Regions from separate parts of the Homo sapiens genome. Here all the other regions are linked to region 1. Evidence: promoter capture Hi-C in 16 types of primary human blood cells and fetal thymus (Javierre and others, 2016). All regions are on one chromosome and are shown on one strand. The core of a region is centred on a gene start or on the middle of the fragment in contact, and the rest is flanking DNA. Distances in the headings are between cores, read along the strand shown. Region 1 holds the start of TLE3 (TLE family member 3, transcriptional corepressor). Region 2 overlaps LOC107984781 (a long non-coding RNA gene). Region 3 has its middle 6.2 kb from the start of LINC02205. Region 4 overlaps PCAT29 (prostate cancer associated transcript 29). Region 5 has its middle 11 kb from the start of LINC02205. Region 6 has its middle 120 kb from the start of PCAT29. Region 7 has its middle 33 kb from the start of LINC02205.

Region 1 (2,716 bases), core at 71-2,570:
GCGGCCGGCTCGCGCGCGGGCTCGCGGACTTGCCGGGGAGGGCCCCGGGGGTCCCGCCTTGGCCGTCCACCGGGCGGTGCGCGCTTTGAGGTCCACTCCCTGCTTGCTCGTCTGCCCCGCCGTAACCCCGAGCGCGGGAGGGCGAGGCCATCGGTTTGCGGGCAAGCTGGCCCCGGAGTCGAGTGGCCTGTGCGACCAAGCGGGGGGTCCGGGGGGCCCGGGGCCGGGGCGAGCGAGCGGGGGAGCGTCCGCGTCCCTCGGAGTGTCCAGGCTAGCGACCGAGACACCTACAGGCTTCCGCCAACGCCGTGGCACTGCCGGGAGCAGGCTGAGCAAACCAGGTGGGAACTCGGAGTTCCCGGGCCTCGGCCGAGCAGGGTCCCGACCCCATCCCCAACCCCCTCAGCCTGGGGATGCAGTGAGGAGCCCGCGCGGCGAGGCTGCGTCGAGGGTGAAGTTGTGCCCACGGGGAAGGCGCCCCGAATGGGGCCAGCCGTGGCTGAGCCTGTTGTCCACGGGCAGCCGGGCCCTTCCATCTGCGCTGCCCGCCTAGCCAGAGTCCCTCAGACTTCTCCTCGCAGGCAGCCGCCGCACATCAAAGGAGCTGTTTATTTGGCTTTCTGAAAAGAAGGGCGAGTGAACAAAGGAGAGCTGGGGGCTAATGTGGGGGAGGCGGGCAGAAGAAGGGGTGAAGAAAAGGGGACATCCTGAGTTCCGAGCAAATTTTTAAAGGTCGGAGGCAACTTTAGGAGCCACCGTTTTATCAGTCCTAAATCTTTTGAAGTGAAAACATTAAAGTGACAAAGTGATTGTTTGTTTTATAGTATCTAATTGGGCTGCTTTGCAGACCTAATGAGATTAGAGGGAGGAATCGTTCGCCGCCGCTGCAGAATAAACTGATACATTACTACCAGCCACAGGTTTTGAAGATTGTACAGCTTGTCTTATTTTCTTTTGTTGTTATTCCTCTGTCTTCCCTCTTTCCTCCTCCCGCTAAATAATTATTTGCTAGTAGACCGTGGGAAAAAAAAGGAGGAAAAAAACTCGAGCAGCCCAGGACTATAATATATATCTATTTATTATATGTCTTTCGGTTAATTCCTGATCTGAGGAGCGCTGTTTTTCACTCCCATGCGAAAGTCACCAGCGGGTAGGGCCTGATTGCTACTTTTCATGCATAGTTTTAGACACAAGAGGGCATTGTGACGTCGCGCCCAGCGGCACCCAGTCGTAGGCCGAGTCCCGCAGCCCCACGTGGGGGCCCCGCGCTCCCATTGGCCAGCGCCGGACGAAGCTGCCACATTATTTTGTTACTTTTCAGTCCCTATTTGGAACTGCTCTCGCGGCAGTTCAGACCTCGTGCTCGTCCCCTTCGCCTGTCTGTGTGTGGTATCCGTAGGTCCGGGGCACTTTTTTTTTTGGTGTGTGTGTGTGTGCGTGCGCGCGTGTGTGTGTGTTGGGTGTGTGTGTTTTGGGGGTTTGCCGGGGCGCGGAGAGGAGAGCCGGGCCGAGGGGAAGGAAGGAAGCCGTAGAGCTCCCCGGTCTCGGGCTGCGTCTCCCCTCCAGCGCTCTCCTGCCTGTGCGCTCCGACGCGGCAGCGGCGGTGGCGCTGAGCGCTCCTCGGTGGGGACGCGGTGCTCAAGCTGGGAGCAGCGAGAACCCTTTGCGGAGGCTTCCCGTGCCCGCTGGACTTAGGATGCCAGGGCGTTTGATTTGCACCTACTGAGCCCGGAGTTCCTCCCCGGCCCTGGGAAGGGCTTGCAGCGGCGGCGGCGGCGGCGGCAGCGGCAGTAGCAGACGGAACAGCAGGCTCTCCTCTCCGAGGGGGGGCGTCGAAGCGCCCGCGCCGGGCTCCCGCCCTCACCCTCCGGCGCTCCTGCGGCCCCAAGCCACCACCTCGTAGCCCGCCTCCTTCCTCTTCTCGCCGCGAGCCCCAGGCCCGGACGCCTCTAGGATCGGACCCGCGCGCCCCGGATGCTTGGGGCTGCCCCGGCGCGCCCCCCTACAGGCGCGACCCGCTGAGTGACCCGGAGGGGGCCCGAGCTCGCCCCAGGAGGGGCCCCCGGCCTCGGGACCCCGCGCCGGACCTGCTGGGGAGCCGACGATGTCCGCGCAGTCCCAGGCATTGACGCGCTCGACGCAGCCCAGGGAAGGCGGCCGGCCGCTGCCCGCCGAGCCCTAGGCGCACAAAGCCCGCGCCCGCCGCCCGGCCCCGGCGCCCGCCGACGACTTTGCCGCCTGCTCCGCGGCTCTTTGTCTCCACTTGGGGCGGGCGCCCGACTCTGGGATTTCGCTGCGAGAACGAGCTGGGGGGGCCGGGGGCGAGCTCTCGGTTTCCCGGCCGCCCCCCGCTCGGGCTCGGCTCCCCCCTCCCCCGCACCTCCCCGGCCCGGGCTCTCGGCGCTTCCACGCTCTCGGAATCACGACCCCTCCCTGCCATGTATCCGCAGGGCAGACATCCGGTGAGTAATTGCAACTCGGTTTATTTAAGCATCTATCATGGCAGGGTAAACGAGGCAGTTTATCTGGCACCTCCATTTTGCTTGTTGCTACCTTTATGGTGTGTGTGTTTGTGTGTGTGCTCTCACACAAAGGGGGATGCGGCCGGGGGGCGCCGTTGAGAGAGGAGGTTAATTCCGCGCGAGTGGCGCGGGGGGCTGCTTGTGTTCCAGGGGGAGCTGTTCACGCGGTCCCCGGCCCCGCTCTGAAGTCTCCC
Region 2 (2,716 bases), core at 121-2,620, 430 kb before region 1:
GTGTGTGTCTGTGTGTCCGTGTGTGTGTCTGTGTGTGTTGTGTATCTGTGTGTCTGTGAGTGTGTGTTTATGTGACTGTGAGTGTGTTTGTGTGTGTCTATGTGGCTGTGTCTATGTCCGTGTGTGTGTGTCATGTGTCTGTGTGTTGTGTGCCCGTGTGTGTCTGTGTGTGTCAGTGTATGTCTGTGTGTGTGTGTGTCTGTGTGTCTGTATCTGTGTGTGTCTGTTCTTGTCTGCACTTTTGTTCCCAGGAGATGTGAGGTGAAGACCTCACCAAAGTAGGAGTGGCGTGTGGGCTGGGCTTTGGCCCTTCGTGCTGGAAGTGATGGAGAGGCATGGCCTGGCTTGGCACAGCTCTGCCTTGCCTGTGCTGCCAGCCTCTTGTGAGAGATGCCATGTGGAAGGGATTTGGGACAATGCACAGTGCACTCTTCTGAGTGTTTTGTCTGGGCTAAAACTCTGCAGAGTATAGCTGTGGCTCTGAAACAAATAGAGGCTGGCCTTGTCAATTGTTTTGGGGTGAAGTTAATCCGGGGTAAGAGTCAGAGGCAGTCTAGAAGGCAGGGCATAAACTAGCCAGATGAAGGCCTTGGCTGGGAGTTGGGTTTATACCCCTAGGCCTAAGGAGTAGCCACTGCTAACAAGAGTTGTAGTTTTTCCTCTGGGTTGCAATTCTCTTCTCTTGCCTCCAAGCCTCCACTCAGGTAACCTGGCAGTGGGGAAATTGAGAGGTGCAGTGTCCACTCACTAATGATGAAGGTGAGATGTGGATGCATGGAGCACATTTTAGAAAAGCCCTGGCCTTTTATAAGGACCTGGGCCTTCCAGTATTTTCCTTGCCATCTCACCACCTGCTAACACATGCTGTGCACATAGGAGGTGCCAGGAAAATGTGTGTTATTCGAATGGAACTGAGAAACCGTTCTAGTCTAAACCCTGAGGCCCCCTGGCTTGCCCCCTCCTACCATGCCCATCTAGTTTTCAATGCCAAGCTCTCACGTCAGGGTTTTTCATCTCCATCTTCCTGTTGTTCACTTTAGGGGAAGGGTCCTGCTTGGACTATTGCAGTAGCCTCCAAGTAGCTTGAACTTTGCTCAGACTCTCCCCTCCCCAATCTGCTAAGCAGATTGTTGACAAGATTCTCTGCAGTTTGCTGCTTTGATGATGTCCCTCTCCAGCTCCAAATTGTTACTGGCTCTCCATTGACTACAGGTAAAATGCAGACTTCTCAGCCTGATCTTCCACAATCTGACGTCAGCCTACCTCCTCATCCTGCCTGGGCCTGGAGGCATGCCAGCCAATTCAGACCACTTGCCATTTTTCTTTTTCTCCTCTGCATCTGGAATTGCTGTCAGTGAAACCTTCTCTTTCCCTCAAGGAGCACCTTGAATGCTGGCCCCACATCACCTTCCTGACCCTGTCAGCTCAAAGAGGTTTCTCTGCATCTGAACTCCATGTGTTCCAGTCTCTGGGTCCTTACCATGCACTGCTGGGGCATGCTGTGTGCTGGCCGCCGTCCCTCCTCATGCTCAGAAGCAGAGCCTATGACTTAGTCACTTTGGTCTCCCCAGCGCCCAGAGCAGATATTTGCACAGAAGAGGAGCTCAATAAATGTTTGTTTAATGAATGAATATATAATTCTAACCCAGTGCCCTGCTTTCTTACAGTGACATTCAAGTCATCCTAGGCCAAAAAAAAAAAAAAATGCCTATTTACCTTCCAAAATTACCTCTCATATTGGTCAAAATTAAAATAAACACTTGGCGGATTAAGACCTGGCCTGTCATATTGTATCTGACACCATTAAGAACCAAGGTTGGGGTGCCTCACGGTTGACTTCCACTGATCTAAGATGTCAACAACAATGTCACCTGCCTGATAGGGTGACATCTGAGCTCCAAGGCATGCACTCCTGTCCTTTGGGCGCTCACCCCCGGCTTCATGCACCCTGTGCCCTGGGTCAGTGCCTGCCTCTCTGATTCAAGCCTTCTTCTGGGCGACTGGGCCTTTGATCTTGGGTTATGTTCCTGTTTTGCTTTCACTTTCCAGCTCTTATCTGCTAGAGTGCTTTGAGTGTAAGCAACAGGAAGTCCTGTGGCTAATGTAGGCGTTAAGGAGTTTATTGGAAGCATGTAGCAGAGCCCATGGAACTGAATGGAGGGCAGAGAACCAACTCAGAGCAATTAGAATTGGGATCACAAACAGGGTGGGGTGTGGGGCTCAGAAACAGGAGCTATTGATAAAAGAACTGTTTTTTCGTTTTTTTGTTTTTTTTGAGACAGTCTCGCTCTGTCACTCAGGCTGAAATGCAGTGGCGTGATCTCAGCTCACTGCAACCTCCATCTCCCGGGTTCAAGCAATTCTCATGCCTCAGCCTCCTGAGTAGCTGGGATTACAGGTGTACGCCACCATGCCTGGCTAATTTTTGTATTTTTAGTAGAGATGGGGAGCTTTGCCATGTTGGCCAGGCTGGTCTCAATCTCTTGGCCTCAAGTGATCCGCTTGCCTCGGCCTCCCAAAGTGCTCAGGAGGCTGAGGTAGGAGAATGGCATGAACCCAGGAAGCGGAGCTTGCAGTGAGCTGAGATTGCTCCGCTGCACTCCAGCCTGGGCGACAGAGCAAGACTCCATCTCAAACAAACAAACAAACAAACAAACAAAAACACTGCTGGGATTACAGGTGTGAGGCACCACGCCTGGCCTGAAAGGACAGGTTC
Region 3 (2,716 bases), core at 153-2,652, 410 kb before region 1:
CCCGGCCAGGCTGCTATCCCACCGCGGTTTGCACTTCTCTGCCCCAACTAGACTTTCCTAGGTCAACCTTATTTTTTGGACAAAGTAGACAGGAGTCGTTCTGGAAACTAATTTTCCCATTCTCCACTTTGTGCCCTGGAATGTAGTTTGTGGAAAATTGATTTTTTTCCCCTCATTCTTCGCCCCACCTCTCCCCACTCTGCACCTCTGTCATTTTTGCTTTTCTGTTAAAAAAAAAAATGTTATCTTGTTTCTTTTTCTAGCATAACTAATATATGCCACTGATCCCTTTTAATTTGGGGGAGTACAAGCTTACATTAGCCTGCTAGGTATCGCAATTGAGCTGCTTTGTCTTTGTGTGGCTCAACAAAGGGCCACGGGCTGCTGTGTCCAGGAAAAATCTTCAGTGTTGGAGCCACTATGCTGTGTGTGCCATTTACTTGGGGCCAGCAGAGCAGAGGTGCGGCCACTGTGGGGTGCTCAAGTCTCTGGGCTGCACTGACAGTGGTAGTGGCCTGACTTGGCAGGAAGAGGGTGCTGTAGAGCCAAGCATGGAGTACATAATTTTGGGTAGGGCCAGCCCTACCTTCAAGGATTCACCTGGGACGACCGCCTGGTTTGCTGCCAACTCCGAAGGGTGCCCCACCAGCAAATTCTTTTTTAAAATTTCAGCTATTATTTTGAATTCAGGGGTTACATGTGCAGATTTCTTACCCGAGTATATTGCATGTTGCCAAGGTTTGGGATATGAATGACCCTGTCACCCAGGTAATAAGCATGGTATCCAATAGGTAGTTTTTCAGCCCCTGCCCCTCTCCCTCTCTCCCCACTCTGGTGGTCCCCAGTGTCTGTTCTCATCTTTATGTCCATGTGTTTATGGACATGTGTTTATGTGTCCATGTTTAGCTCTCACTTACAAGTGAGAACATGCAGTATTTGGTTTTCTATTTCTGCATTAATTTGCTTAAGATGATGGCCTTTGGCTGCATCCATGTTGCTGCAAAGGACATGATTTCATTCTTTTTTATGGCTGCATAGTATTCCATGGTGTATATGTACCACATTTTCTTTATCCAATCCACTGCTGATGGGCACCTGGGTTGATTTAATATCTTTGCTATTGTGAACAGTGCTGTGAGGAATACACGACTACATGTGTCTTTTTGGCAGAACAATTTATATTCCTTTGGGTATATACCCACTAATGAGCTTGCTGGGTTGAATAATAGTTCTATTTTCAGTTCTTTGAGAAATCTCCAAACTGCCTTTTCACAGTGGCTGAACTAATTTACATTCCCACCAACAGTGTATAAGTGTTCCTTTCTCTCCACAGCTTTGCCAGCATCTGTTATTTTTTGACTTTTAAATAATAGCCATTCTGACTGGTGTGAGATGGTGTCTCATTGTGGTTTTGATTTGCATTTCTTGGATGATTAGTGATATTGAACATTTTTTTCATACGTTTGTCAGACACTTGTGTGTCTTCTTTTGAGAAGTGTCTGTTTATGTCCTTTGACCACTTTTTAATGAGGTTATTTGTTTTTTTGCTTGTTTAATTGTTTAAGTTTCTTATAGATTCTGGATATTAAACCTTTGTTGGATGCATAGTTTGTGAATATTTTCTCCCATTCTGTAGGTTGTCTGTTTACCCTGTTGATAGTTTCTTTTGCTGTGCAGAAGTTCCTTAATTATGTCCCATTTGTCAATTTTTGTTTTTGTTGTAATTGCTTTTGAGGACTTAGTCATAAATTCTTTGACAAGGCTGATGTCCAGAATGGTATTTCCCAGGTTTTCTTCTAGGATTTTTATAGTTTTAGGTCTTACATTTAAGTCTTTAATCCATCTTGAGTTAAGTTTTGTATATGGTGAAATGTAGGGGTCCAGTTTAATTCTTCTGCATATAGCTGGTCAGTTATCCCAGCATCAAATATTTATTGAATAGGGATTTCTTTTCCTATTGCTTATTTTTGTTGACTTTGTCAAAGATCAAATGGTTGTAAGTGTTCCATATGAATTTTTTTCTAATTCTGTGAAAAATGATGTTGGTAGTTTGATAGGAATAGCATTAAATCTGTAGATTGCTTTGGGCAGTATGACCATTATAACAGTATTGATTCTTCCAGTCCACAAACATGGAACATTTTTCCATTTGTTTGTGTTACCTATGATTTCTTTCAGTATTTCAGTAGTGTTTTGTAGTGTTCTGTTTAGAGATCTTTCACTTCCTTGGTTGGATGTATTCCTAGGTATTTTTTTTTTTTGAGTGGCTATTGTAAATGGGATTGAGTTCTTGATGTGGCTCTCAGCTTGAATATTATTGGTTTATAAAAATGCTGCTGGTTTTTGTATATTAACTTTGTATCCTGAAACTTTACTGAAGTTGTTTATCAGTTCTAGGAGCCTTTTGGCAGAGTCTTTAGGGCTTTCTAGGTATAGAATCATATTGTCAGTGAAGAGAGATAATTTGATTTCTTTTCCTACTTGGAAGCTTTTTGTTTCTTTGTCTTGCCTAATTGCTCTGGCTAGGACTTCCAGTACTATGTTGAATAGGAGTGGTGGGAGTGGGCATCCTTGTCTTATTCCTGTTCTTAAGGGGAATGCTTCCAGCTTTTGCCCATTCTGTTTGATATTGGCTGTGGGTTTGTTGTAGATGGTTCTTAGTCTTCTGAAGTATGTTCTTTTGATGCCTAGTTTGTTGAGGGTTTTTTTTTAATCA
Region 4 (2,716 bases), core at 108-2,607, 400 kb after region 1:
TTAGGATGTACTGTAGCCAGGCCAACGAGGTCTCTAGACATCCCTGAGATCATAAAAATAGAAAGTAAGGCCCCACTGCCAGGTTGAGTTGTGCAAAGGGAGCTTTGAGCAGTCTGCAAAGAGCCTCTAGGCTGCAAGAGGAAGGCCTGGCCCCTGAAGCCAGGTGGACTGATGTCTCCAGTACTAATTTAATTAGAGTGGTCCAGGGAGGCCTAACACAGGAGGTGATGTGGGAGCTGAGGTTTGAATAGCAAGAAGAACCAGCCAAGGCAGGTTCTAGGGAAGGCCATTCCAGGCAGAGGGAACAACTACCACACAGGCTCTGGAGCAAGAGTAAGCTTGACATGTACAAGGAATCAAGACAGGGCCCATGCGGCTAGAACACGGTGGACCAAAGAAAAATGGAAGTTGGAGAAGAAGACAGGGCCAATTGTGTGGGGCCTTTCACTCCGTGGTAAGAAGTTTGAACTTTAAATGCAACAAAAACAATTGAAGAGTTTTGCTTTTTAATTAAAAAGAGCGATATTTCAAGGTTCTTCTGGCAGCAGTATGGAGAGTGGCCGTCGGGGCAACCTGGATGGGAAGAAAGAGGTGTGTTAGGAAGCTGTTACAGTTGGTCACGGAGGACTTAATGGCTTGGGCCGGAGGGATGGAAATGGAGAGGAGTGGACAGATTCAGAATGTATTTTTGGAGCTGGAACCAATAATTCCTACTGACAGATTGTGAGAGGAGAAAAGGGGAGAATCAAGGAAGACTCTGGTGATTTTGTTTTGAGAAGTGGGGTTGGAGGTTAATACCACTCACTCAGATGGGGGAGACTTGGAGAGGACCAGGTTTATGGGCAAAACATCTAGCTTTTGTGTAGGTGATGGCCTGGTGGTAGCTATTGACACCCTCATCACTATTGTAGTGGATGCAGCGGCATGCTGCCCAGATCCCCTCTTCAGAGCCAAGACCCCAATCCTCCAGCCGATGGGAAGGTCACAGTTATTACTCATCAGAAACCTGCTCTCCTTCCGAGGCCATGCCTCCTCCCAAGAGGGGCCATGGCCGATAAAGGGCCGATGTGTAGACACACAGCCCAGGCTTCTTACCTAAATTGGAGACTACCCTAAAGGGCCATCCTTGTTCCAGAGGTCCCCGGATCAGCCAGGGCCTCTGGTGCAGCTGCACGTCTCTCAGCTTCTTCCTCTGCCCTGTCTGCCTCCTCACCTCCTCGCAGATGATTTCCCACTAACACCTACCAGCTTCTCACACCACCTCTGTCTCAGTCTGGATCCAGAGAACCTAGTGTAAGACAACTATTCTCATCACCATAATCGTTATTACCAGGTCATTTCCAGACTCCCAACCAATTTGAAAACTCTGTTATGAAGCATTCTGAAATAGCCTTTCAAACTTCTTGAACGCCTACTGTCTAAAAAGGCCTAACTCCCCATCTTTGTTCACCACAGCCCCCTCAGAAACAGTTTCTCATCCTAGATTTACTGAGAAAATTATGTGTATGTTGTCAATGCTCTGTCTATAGATGCACATTTGTACAAGTTAGACCCTGGGTCCTGATGTTGAGAAGGGGCCCATACCCAGTGAGTTGATACAGCAGGGATAACAGAGGCCTCCTGATTGATATACCACCCCAAACCCCTGCTCCCAAAGAAGAAAAGAATGTGCTTTCATGGTGTCTGTGTGTGTGTGTGTGTGTGTGTGTGTGTGTCTGTGTGTCTGTGTGTGTGTGTGATGCCCACATGTAACCAAATGGACTATAATGCTTATAGCTGGACAGATGCAGGGCCATTACATACGACTGCACTAGGTTGTACCCTATACAAATACACCTGGTGAAAAGGATAGTTGGGGGGTAAAATCCAGCCCATATTCTCCTGCCGACCTTATGCCCAGGTATGGTGCAGCATCTTTCTCTACCCACCACACCATGCACCCTGACCCAGGGCTAATTCTGCCCAGAGGGTATACTTTTTTCTAATTTGTACAAAAGCTCCAAAAGAACAGGAACAAGGAGCGCTGGTTATTAAACTCTTGTCCCTCGGCCCCAAATCCACCCTTCTGTTCTCTACTTTGTGCTCCTGGAGATGAAATCCTGCAAGCCACATTTCCCCTTCACTAGCTTCTCCTTACTAGGCCCCCTCCCATTGACTCTTGGAGGGACAAAGAGAGGCAGAAGGAGAGACCCCATCTATCCCATTTGCTGCTTACTCCTGGCCACATCACTCCACCAGCAGTGAATTCCAGTTCACTGGCTTTTTGCCACACCCTCAGAACCCACCTTGGCATGTCCAGCAACATCAGCACCAATCAGCCAGCACCAGCTTCTCTGAGTTTTAGGTCCTAGCACTGCAGTTTCTTCTCCAAGCTTCCAGGTTCTAATAACCCTGATCTCTTTCTTTGTTCCTCTGTCCTAAAGGTATAGCTGCCTTTTGGCAGTTACTATCTCTGTAAGTCCTCAATGGCCACTTTCTGTCTTTCTGCGCCTCCAATTCTTGTTTACTCAGTTCCCTACGTTAAAATCTCTCTGTTCAAACAACTTGTGTGAGCTCTGTTTTCCTGACTGACAGTCGTTGGGGGCATAAATGAGAGCCTTTCACAGTCAGAGCCCCCCAGTTACTGTTAGTCACTCATTTATTCATTCAACAAACATTTGTACTATAATCCCTATGTATAGAAGAAGGTGGCTTTGGTTGTATATATACACACACC
Region 5 (2,716 bases), core at 163-2,662, 400 kb before region 1:
GGTTTACTCTCCACCTGTAGAAGCTGCAGCTGGGGCCACCACATTAGGTCCAATGACCACTTTCCAATCTCTCCCCGAGAAGCTTCCAGTTTGGGCAGAGCCTATGGGCAGGGTGGGGACCATTCCAAGACGGGCCACTACAATAGCCCAGAGAAACACCACGTAGTACAAGCATGCTCCATTTTAAGCAAACCCTGTATTTGGAGCGGCATAAACTTGAAGTGAAGAGCACAGATTTGGTTTCCAGATGGCCTGGGCTCAAATCCTGGCTCTGCCACTTACCAGCTCTACTACTTATCTTTTTCTGTGTGCCAGTTTTCTCATCTGTAAAGTGGAAATAATAATGGTTATTCCTCTTGGTTTTGTTGCAAGAGTTAACCGAATGATTCTAAGGGAAGCATTGGCACTTAGTAAACACTAGATAAAGACTGTTCCAAGGAAGGGCAGAATGAGCACAGAAGGGCTTGTGAGTAGGAAGGAATGGGTCTGAGCATACCTTCGCGTGAAGGCAAAGCTATGTAGAGGGGCTGTGATGTAGTACACTGGGTTGCTGAAAGCTCAGAGCTTCCCTTCCAGCTATCAGGGCTGACAGGAGAGGCCTGGACCCAGCAACCCATTCAGCCCCGTCGTGATACCCTGGGGATTCTTGCTTCTCCCCCATTGAAACTGGTCTCCCTGCTCTCCAGAGGCAGAGAACTCCAGTGAACTCCCTGCAGGCGACTCCCTCCAACCTGGTGAGATGGGAAATTAATCTCCCTTGAAACCTATACTTAACATACAGGATTCTGTTCCCCAGTGAGACAATGAAATTAATCTGCCACTAATTTTCTGTTTGCCAACCCTGGGTTGCAGCATTTCTAATTCTGCTTTTCCAACTGTCTTGAGTCGGGTGAAACAAAGACTTAATCTCTTCTCTGGACTTGTTTATTCTGTCTTCAAAAAATGAATCACGCTGGCATTTTGCTCTACTGGTTTGGGGAAGGAGGGTGGAATGAGGTTTCCTTATCTCCCCCGGAGGCCATGGATTCCAGGCCTGTCTCTCTAGCCTCTCCCCAGCTTTCTGGGTGTGAGGGGATTAGGGGCCCCTATGATCTGTTTGCTTACTCTGAGTCTGAATGTATCAGTCACAGGGTGACTAACAGGCTGCCTCCTTGGGAACTGGGCGGGAAGGGGAGGCCCCTAAGTTTGAATGCCAATTTCTTGAGCGAGGCTAGGACCTGGGTCCCTTCCTCCCAGGGGGTGTTGTGGGGGAAGGTGGGGGAATCATGACCTGGCCCCACCTGCCTGCCTTTCTAACCTCTATTGCCAGCACCTAAGCCTCCAGCCACACCAACCGCCTGTCATTTCCTGAGCATGGTACCTTCCAAGCCATTCGCTCTGCTTGGCCTCCTTTTCCCCTGCACAGGGTAGGGCTTGACCTCTCTGTGCCTCAGTAAAACAGGAATAATAATAGTACCTGCCACAGGGGTGGAAGTAAGGACTAAATGAGAATCTCCCCTAAAGACTTAGAAGTGCGTGACATTAGCAAGTGCTTGATAAATGAGAACCAGGATTGTCATCACCTGACTCGCATGTCCCCACCTCTGGGACACCTTCCCAATCTCCCAGCAGAAAGATCCTTTCCTCTGGAGGCCCCAAGGCTCCCCCTGAGCCTCTGTGGAATCCTTATTCTGCTGCTTACAGTGGAGCCAGGGAGCATAACCTCTCTGCATTTCATTTTCCTCCCGCTGCGGAATAGAAATAATGATAGTGATGACCTCATCCCGGGTTGTCAGGAGGATTAAATGAGATAATGCTCATTAAGGGCTTAACACAGGGCACGACCTCAAGCAGTAAATCAATGTTCTGATGTGTGGTTATGATGGTTAATAATTAATGAGCATGCATTGTGAAGTCTGTCTTCCATCAGCAGAAACTCCCTGAAGGTAGAGGAGGTCCTCAGTCTTTCGTGGGACTCTTGGTGCTCACCTGTTGGGTGGGAACAAGGGCCTGATTCCTGAGCATGGTGGGTGAGGCTAGGCTGGCTGGTGGAGGGTGCCCACCTGTCCTGAGCGCAGGCCACTCTCACTGTTCAGCATAGTGTCCTTGGAGATACCTCCTGGGCCCTGCCTGAGCGAGCTTGGGCCCCAGCCCGGGCCACCACTGGCTTTGCTGTCTTCACTGTTGCCGATGAGCTGCACCGTGCACCTAGTAATGGTCACGACCACATCCCTCTCACCGTTCCCATCACCCTGAGCAGTGTCACTATCCTATCAGCACCAAGCCCCTGTCCTAGAGTGTCACCGCTGAGGGAGACCTTGGAAACCATCTGCTCCCATATCCCAGACTTATGCTTGAAAACTAAAGATGAGAGAGGTGCTCCAACTGGCCTAACACCACACAGCAAGTTGGAGGCAGTGCCAGGATTGGATCCAAAGCCTCTTGACTCCCACTGCAGGGCTCTTCCCAACACTTTGCTGCCTGTCCTTGCTTCACCAGAACCCCTGTCATCGTGCTGCAGAAGAAGGACACTCATATTTATTGAGCATCTACTATGTGCCAGATACTGTGTAGGCTTGTGTATTAGCTCAGTTACTCCTCCCAACACATCTGGAAGGGGTGATGTTATGCTCCCCATTTTACAGATGAAGAAACTGAAATCACTTGATCAGGATCACAGTAAGGCAATGAGGTAGGTGGAGTTGAAACCCAGATCTATCTAACTCTATATCCAGTG
Region 6 (2,716 bases), core at 72-2,571, 390 kb after region 1:
AACCTCTCTTACAGTCAGGCTGTGAGGGATAAGATAAATAAGCTTTGTAAAATATTGGCAATAGTTGCTGACACAGGAGTTTCTCAATAAATGTTCACCCTTCCCTCACCTATTTCATTCCAGTCATTGATAAAAGGGCTGAATAAGATATGGCCAAAGACAGAGTCCCTTGACATGCCACTAGAGACCCTCATCTAGGCTGATGTAGTTAGATTTATCCATTCCATTTGGGTATGGCCCTTTAACCGGTTCCTAATCTATTGAATTGCACTAGCATCCAGTCCTAACTCTTCACCTTGAGATGCGCATGAGACACCTTGCCAAATATCTTGCTCAAGTCCAAACAGATCACATATTTCTCACTTGCCTGTCTAGAAATCCAAAAGGGCAAGTGGGAGAGCCCAGGTGTGGGAATCACAGCGTTTCAGCCACAGTAGTGGGGAGGAGTGGGGTGGGCACAAGTCATACTTTATATTTGATTGCCAGAATGTTGGGCTCCCAGAGAGAAGCCCTGTTTCCCAGCAATGTGCCAGGTAGGCAGACAAGGCAAGAAGTATGACCAAGTATATTCTGTTGCCCAGGAGCTGGCCCAGAGGAGGTGGAAATGTGTGCTGAACTAGGACTTAGGGACCAGAGTTCTAGTCTTACAGTTACTGGGTGACATCAGGCAATCTTGTAACTTCCTGACCTGTTTCAGCTCAGCCACACTGAGCAGATCCTCACTATGAACTATGCCCCTTTAGCCCTTAACTGTTTGCCCAGTTCCTCCCTAGGCTCAGGAAATGGAAGTATTTGACCTGCTGGGTAGTACACATATCCCAGAGTGAGGGTGATGAATACATGGCAGGGTTCCAGGGAGTATAGGGAGCTATACCAAAGGCACAGCAGCTCTTCCTAGAACAGTGGTTAGTTAGAGAATTGCGATGTGCATACACACTTATGCATACCCACACACAAACATACATGCACACGTGGATATGCTGTGGGAAAGAAATAGATTTCCTTAAATTCTGCACGCATTTTTAAAATAAAGCCTGAGATTTCTGAGATATTTTCTATCTGCCACTGGCATATGACCCCTCAACCCTATGGGTACAACATCACCTTCCCGACATTTGAAAGTCACCCTGCTGGGCAGAAGGGGCCCTAGAGGCTATCTTGGATACATGAAGACCAAATGGCTGTTCTTGGCTTCCTTGGTGCTCAAGAAAAAGTCCAGCCACTTCCTGTTTCAAGAGCTGCCCCTTTCTCTAGGGCACACTGCCCCTCCGAGTACCTGTTCCCCAGCCCCAGGAGCTCCCCTGATGCTATGAAGGAGGAGCAGCAATAAAGAGACTGCCCGCCCCATCCCCACCACAATCTGTAGTCACAATTGTGTCTACTGTGGGCTTAATCTTGGGCCCCACTTTTGAGCTGGGAATGTAGGAAAAAATCACTAACTTAGACAGGCCAGAGTTCAAATCATGGCCCTCTCTTATCATGCAAAGGCCTCAGGCAAGTCACCTACTTCTCTGAGACCAGATATGCAAATTGCAAATTGGGATCCTAGGACCTAAATCGTTGGTGGTTGGGAAGTTATGGGGAAAAGTCCTCACATATCCTCAAGTGCCTATCCACCCCACCTTTCTCTTAGTCTTGATTCCTCCAAAATATTAGGTTACCTTTCTTTCTAATTTTTACCTGACAAGGCACAGCATAATGAAAACTGAAACTGGTTGGCCATCAGCAGACATGACTTTGAGACTACCATACTCAACGCTGACTATCAAGTCATGTATATAAACCATGCCTCAGTTTCCTCACCTTTAAGAGAGGAGGGTTGAAATAGATATTGATTATATCAGCCTCCATAGATTGCATTTCTGTAGTGTTCCAGTCATTTCATAGATGCCATTTAATTTATATTAATTCAGTATCCTACAAGAAGGTATCATCAGGCTTTACTCTATGAAAAGGAGTGGGGTGCAGCACTCAAGAACATGCGCTTTGAGCTAAGACTGCTTGACTTCAGCCCCCTGCTCTTTACTCAGCTGTTTTTTGATCTAAGACAAGTAATCTAACCGCTTTGTGCCTCAGTTTCCCTTCTGCAAAACCTAAGGTGTTTATGAAGATTAAATCAGATAATCCAAGCAAGGGGTTTCACTCAACACCTGGCACAAGAGAAGCCCTGCATAAGTAATTACCCCAGAGGAGCCAAGATATCAGAGACCTGTCCAAGGCTACAGAGCACAGGGCTATCCAGCTCCAAGTCCATGCCCTGGTCCTCTGAAGAACGTTGTCTCTTTTACAGGACTGTGGAGGGCCCTCCAAGAGCATCTCTGTATTGACTCTGGAGTTGTTGGGCTGGTGGTTTAGTGCCCAGGAGGAAACCTCTGGAAGTCAGGGGAGAGACATGAGATCCTGGGGAACTCAATCTTCCCCCATGCATGGCAGATATCCAGACCCCAGCATACATGCCCACAGAGAAGACACACACACACACACACACACACACACACACACACACTCATATACATATGTACACTTAGTACAGGAGCCATTTCTCCAGATCAGCCTGTTCCAAGACTCCAAATCCCAGGGCTGCTGCAAACAAAGCTTTTAATCCACTGCCCCATCAACACACCTGTCCAGGGCAGGTCAATAACAGCCCCTCCTGGGTGCTGTGATGGACACATACGAGGATTCCTTTCACTGCTATGTTTACTGAGCACCTACT
Region 7 (2,716 bases), core at 82-2,581, 380 kb before region 1:
TGAAGTTGGCCACCCCTCCCTCCCTCTCAAGTCACTAAACATGCTCATTCTCTCTCGCTCTCTCTTGTCTTTGCAAGGAAACATCTTGGCTTCAGAGAGGACTTTCCACTGTGGCTGGGGAGCGTGGCCCATCTGAGCCTCATTTCCTGCCTTCCCCAAACAGGCAGAGCCCAAGAGGTCACCCAGAGTGTGCTGGAGATGGGGAGAGAGCGCTCACTTGCAGTTAAGGATCCTGGTTGCCGCTCAGGTGCCACTGCTAGTGCTTCCCATGAGGTGGGCTTACCAGTTACCATCATGGGGGCTGAGTTTCTCCCTTTGTTGTTCAAGCCGGGAGGGGTGGGTTAGAGCTGTGGTTTCCATGCTCATGCCTTTCAAATTGTTTTAAGTTGGGGCAACACTTATTTGCAGGGAATCTCAATGCACCAAACAGAACTGCTTGGTGCAAGTGGGAGTTGGGTCCGGCAGCCCCATGCACGCAGCATGTCCAGCCCAAACCCCTCCCAGTGATCCCCCCGGGCCCCAAGGAGGAAGACTTGGGTGCCGTGGAACACAATTTGAAAACCATGGTCTCCTTTCACAAAAGCCCCTGCCAGCCTTTGGGTTGGGAGAGGAATCTGTGCCTGCTGGGGGAAATCACCGTGGTTGCCTTTAGCTGTCTCGAGTGCACCTGATCCTCCACCCGGGGATGAGGGGATAAATTCAGCAAGGAGAAGACGGCCGTCCATAGTAACAACAACAACAAAAATGATTTTGCTCCTGCTGAAGTTTCTTGAGCAACTGGCAGGCTGCCATGAACGTACTTAGGCGGAAAATCACCAGAAAAAAATGATATAATCTGACAGATTTTTCACAGGCTTAAATATTCATGAATTAAAGGAATTGGCAGAATTTTCTACATTATTAGCTTTCATCATGGCTGCAGGAGCAGTTGGTATACTGGCTGCTCTTCAAGATCCATTAATCTCGTCCATCATAAGAGCAGCCATTTTAAAATTAGCTATTTTTACTGAGTGATGGTGTACAGGGGAGATGGGGAAATTGAAATGCGATTCCAGCGTAAAGGTCCTCCCCCTTCTCACTTTAAAAGCAGCAGGGAAAGCCAAGCAGCCTCTCAATGGGGAGGGGTCAGCGTAACTCCAGAAGAGAGGTCTGTGAAATGTAGGCATGTGGTGCGTTGTAGGGCCCTTCTAGTCCTTTGGATAGGGAGCACGCGTTTGCCTGCCGAGCCCTGAACTCCGGACTGGGGACCAGGAAGGGATTAGCATGGCTTTTGGTGAGGCAGAGACCAAGAGCCCCAAATAGGGGCTTCTGGGTGAGGAAGACATTTAGACCAAATAGCACAGTCTTTCTAACAGATGGCACTTGGGGTGCGGGACTGCAGAATAGCCGAATAATAATACTCATTATGAATGTCGGGGAGTGCGTACTCTGTGCTGGAAACCATGCTATGCCTGCATCTTCTGGTTCTAGCATCAGGGAACTCGGAAGGTAGACATATACATGTGTGTGTCTCGCACACAGGTTAAGTCAGTTGGCCATGGTCTCATGGCCAGTGAATGGCAGGGCCAGGATTCAGATCCAGGTCTTTCTGTCTGCAAAGGGAGTGAGAAGATGCTGTATTGATTGCTGGCCTGTGGCACTGTGAAGGTACATTCTCCCAAACACAGCCAAAACTTGGTAGGAGAAAGCTGCTTCTTTTCAACCATGGAGCAAAGTTATAGTCAGATCATTCCTGTGGAAACTTGAGGCCCAGGTTGATTTCATCCTCCCTTGCTTTCTTCCTTTTATCCATCCATCCATCTAACCCCCTTCCTTCCTTCTTTTCTTCCATCCACCTTTCCCCTCCCTCCCTCCCTTCCTCCTTCCCTCTACATTGAAGATGTAGGCTTTATTATCATTCAGGTATGGCACGGCCAATAAATCAGGAGCTGATGCCATGGAAAACTTGTTACTCACAGTTCCAGGAGAAGGGAGCATGCCACACCATGCGGGGCCACGTGGGGAAACACCAGGGGCAGTCAGGAGGCAGGGGGCGAGGGGAAAACATGGGCAGGAACTTTTGTGGTGGTTTCTATGGGAATGGATGGGCAGGGCAGGGCAAGCAGGTTTAGGATCGGCTAGTTTGAATAATGTAAGGTTCTGGGACACAGTCCCTAGTTGTTTGGTACCTGGCCCTGGGGTGACTGGGGAAGGGGCATAGGGGCCCTGAGTGTGACAGCCCAGTAGAGGAGGTGGGGGGCGGGGGTAGTCTCAGGACTGTTTGCATATTGCTATGGTTAGAACATTTGCATCCTCTCCAAAATTATGTTGAAACTTAATCTCCAATGCAATCATATTAGGAGGTGGGGCCTTTAGGGGGGCTCCGCCCCACGGATGGGATTAGTGCCCTACAAAAGGGCCGGAGGGAACTAGCTAGGTTCTTTTGTCCTTTTTCTCTTCTGCCCTTCTGCTGTGTGAGGACACAGTATCATCCCCTCTGGAGCACGGTGTTTAAGGCACCATCTTAGAAGCAGAGACTAGTCCTCACCTGCCAGACATGGAACCCACCAGCATCTTCATCTTGGACTTCCAGCTTCCAGAACTGTGAGGAATAAATTTCTGTTCTTTATCTATTACCCAGTCTGTGGTATTTTGTTATAGCAGCATGACTGCACTCAGACACATAAGCAAGGCACACTCGTAGGCAAGTCCTTCACGATCTGTAGGACTGGCTGGA

Evidence for each region. The method cuts DNA at HindIII sites, captures the fragments that hold promoters and counts their contacts. A CHiCAGO score of 5 or more calls a contact.
Region 2: a fragment that was not itself captured here is called in contact with the fragment with the promoter of TLE3 in region 1 in 7 of 17 cell types (fetal thymus, naive CD8 T cells, total B cells and 4 more); the score reaches 13.7 in fetal thymus.
Region 3: a fragment that was not itself captured here is called in contact with the fragment with the promoter of TLE3 in region 1 in 15 of 17 cell types (fetal thymus, M0 macrophages, monocytes and 12 more); the score reaches 13.2 in fetal thymus.
Region 4: a contact is called between a fragment that was not itself captured here and the fragment with the promoter of TLE3 in region 1, in 3 of 17 cell types (activated CD4 T cells, non-activated CD4 T cells and neutrophils). The highest score is 7.0, in activated CD4 T cells.
Region 5: a contact is called between a fragment that was not itself captured here and the fragment with the promoter of TLE3 in region 1, in 17 of 17 cell types (fetal thymus, non-activated CD4 T cells, monocytes and 14 more). The highest score is 24.6, in fetal thymus.
Region 6: a fragment that was not itself captured here is called in contact with the fragment with the promoter of TLE3 in region 1 in 9 of 17 cell types (activated CD4 T cells, naive CD8 T cells, total CD4 T cells and 6 more); the score reaches 14.1 in activated CD4 T cells.
Region 7: a contact is called between a fragment that was not itself captured here and the fragment with the promoter of TLE3 in region 1, in 10 of 17 cell types (fetal thymus, M0 macrophages, total B cells and 7 more). The highest score is 15.1, in fetal thymus.

Annotation. Positions count from the first base shown.
Region 1 is chr15:70,096,521-70,099,236 of GRCh38, reverse strand. It overlaps TLE3 (TLE family member 3, transcriptional corepressor), which reads left to right and starts at 1,320. Exons shown (of 20, transcript NM_001105192.3): 1 at 1,320-2,462. The coding sequence starts at 2,439. RefSeq lists silencers at 1-142, 213-292, 1,882-2,051, 2,062-2,181 and an enhancer at 88-1,062. The HindIII fragment of the contact is 8,963 bases long and covers 1-2,716 here.
Region 2 is chr15:70,527,731-70,530,446 of GRCh38, reverse strand. It overlaps LOC107984781 (a long non-coding RNA gene), which reads left to right. Exons shown (of 2, transcript XR_007064698.1): 2 at 1,213-1,774. Among named protein-coding and RNA genes, the nearest start is that of LINC02205, 23 kb to the right of the region's middle. RefSeq lists an enhancer at 1,940-1,989. The HindIII fragment of the contact is 3,599 bases long and covers 1-2,716 here.
Region 3 is chr15:70,510,734-70,513,449 of GRCh38, reverse strand. No RefSeq gene overlaps it. Among named protein-coding and RNA genes, the nearest start is that of LINC02205, 6.2 kb to the right of the region's middle. RefSeq lists an enhancer at 598-677. The HindIII fragment of the contact is 2,177 bases long and covers 314-2,490 here.
Region 4 is chr15:69,693,524-69,696,239 of GRCh38, reverse strand. It overlaps PCAT29 (prostate cancer associated transcript 29), which reads right to left. Exons shown (of 4, transcript NR_126438.1): 4 at 490-573. Among named protein-coding and RNA genes, the nearest start is that of PCAT29, 100 kb to the right of the region's middle. The HindIII fragment of the contact is 2,034 bases long and covers 341-2,374 here.
Region 5 is chr15:70,493,398-70,496,113 of GRCh38, reverse strand. No RefSeq gene overlaps it. Among named protein-coding and RNA genes, the nearest start is that of LINC02205, 11 kb to the left of the region's middle. The HindIII fragment of the contact is 2,655 bases long and covers 85-2,716 here.
Region 6 is chr15:69,711,280-69,713,995 of GRCh38, reverse strand. No RefSeq gene overlaps it. Among named protein-coding and RNA genes, the nearest start is that of PCAT29, 120 kb to the right of the region's middle. The HindIII fragment of the contact is 2,553 bases long and covers 45-2,597 here.
Region 7 is chr15:70,471,968-70,474,683 of GRCh38, reverse strand. No RefSeq gene overlaps it. Among named protein-coding and RNA genes, the nearest start is that of LINC02205, 33 kb to the left of the region's middle. The HindIII fragment of the contact is 8,371 bases long and covers 1-2,716 here.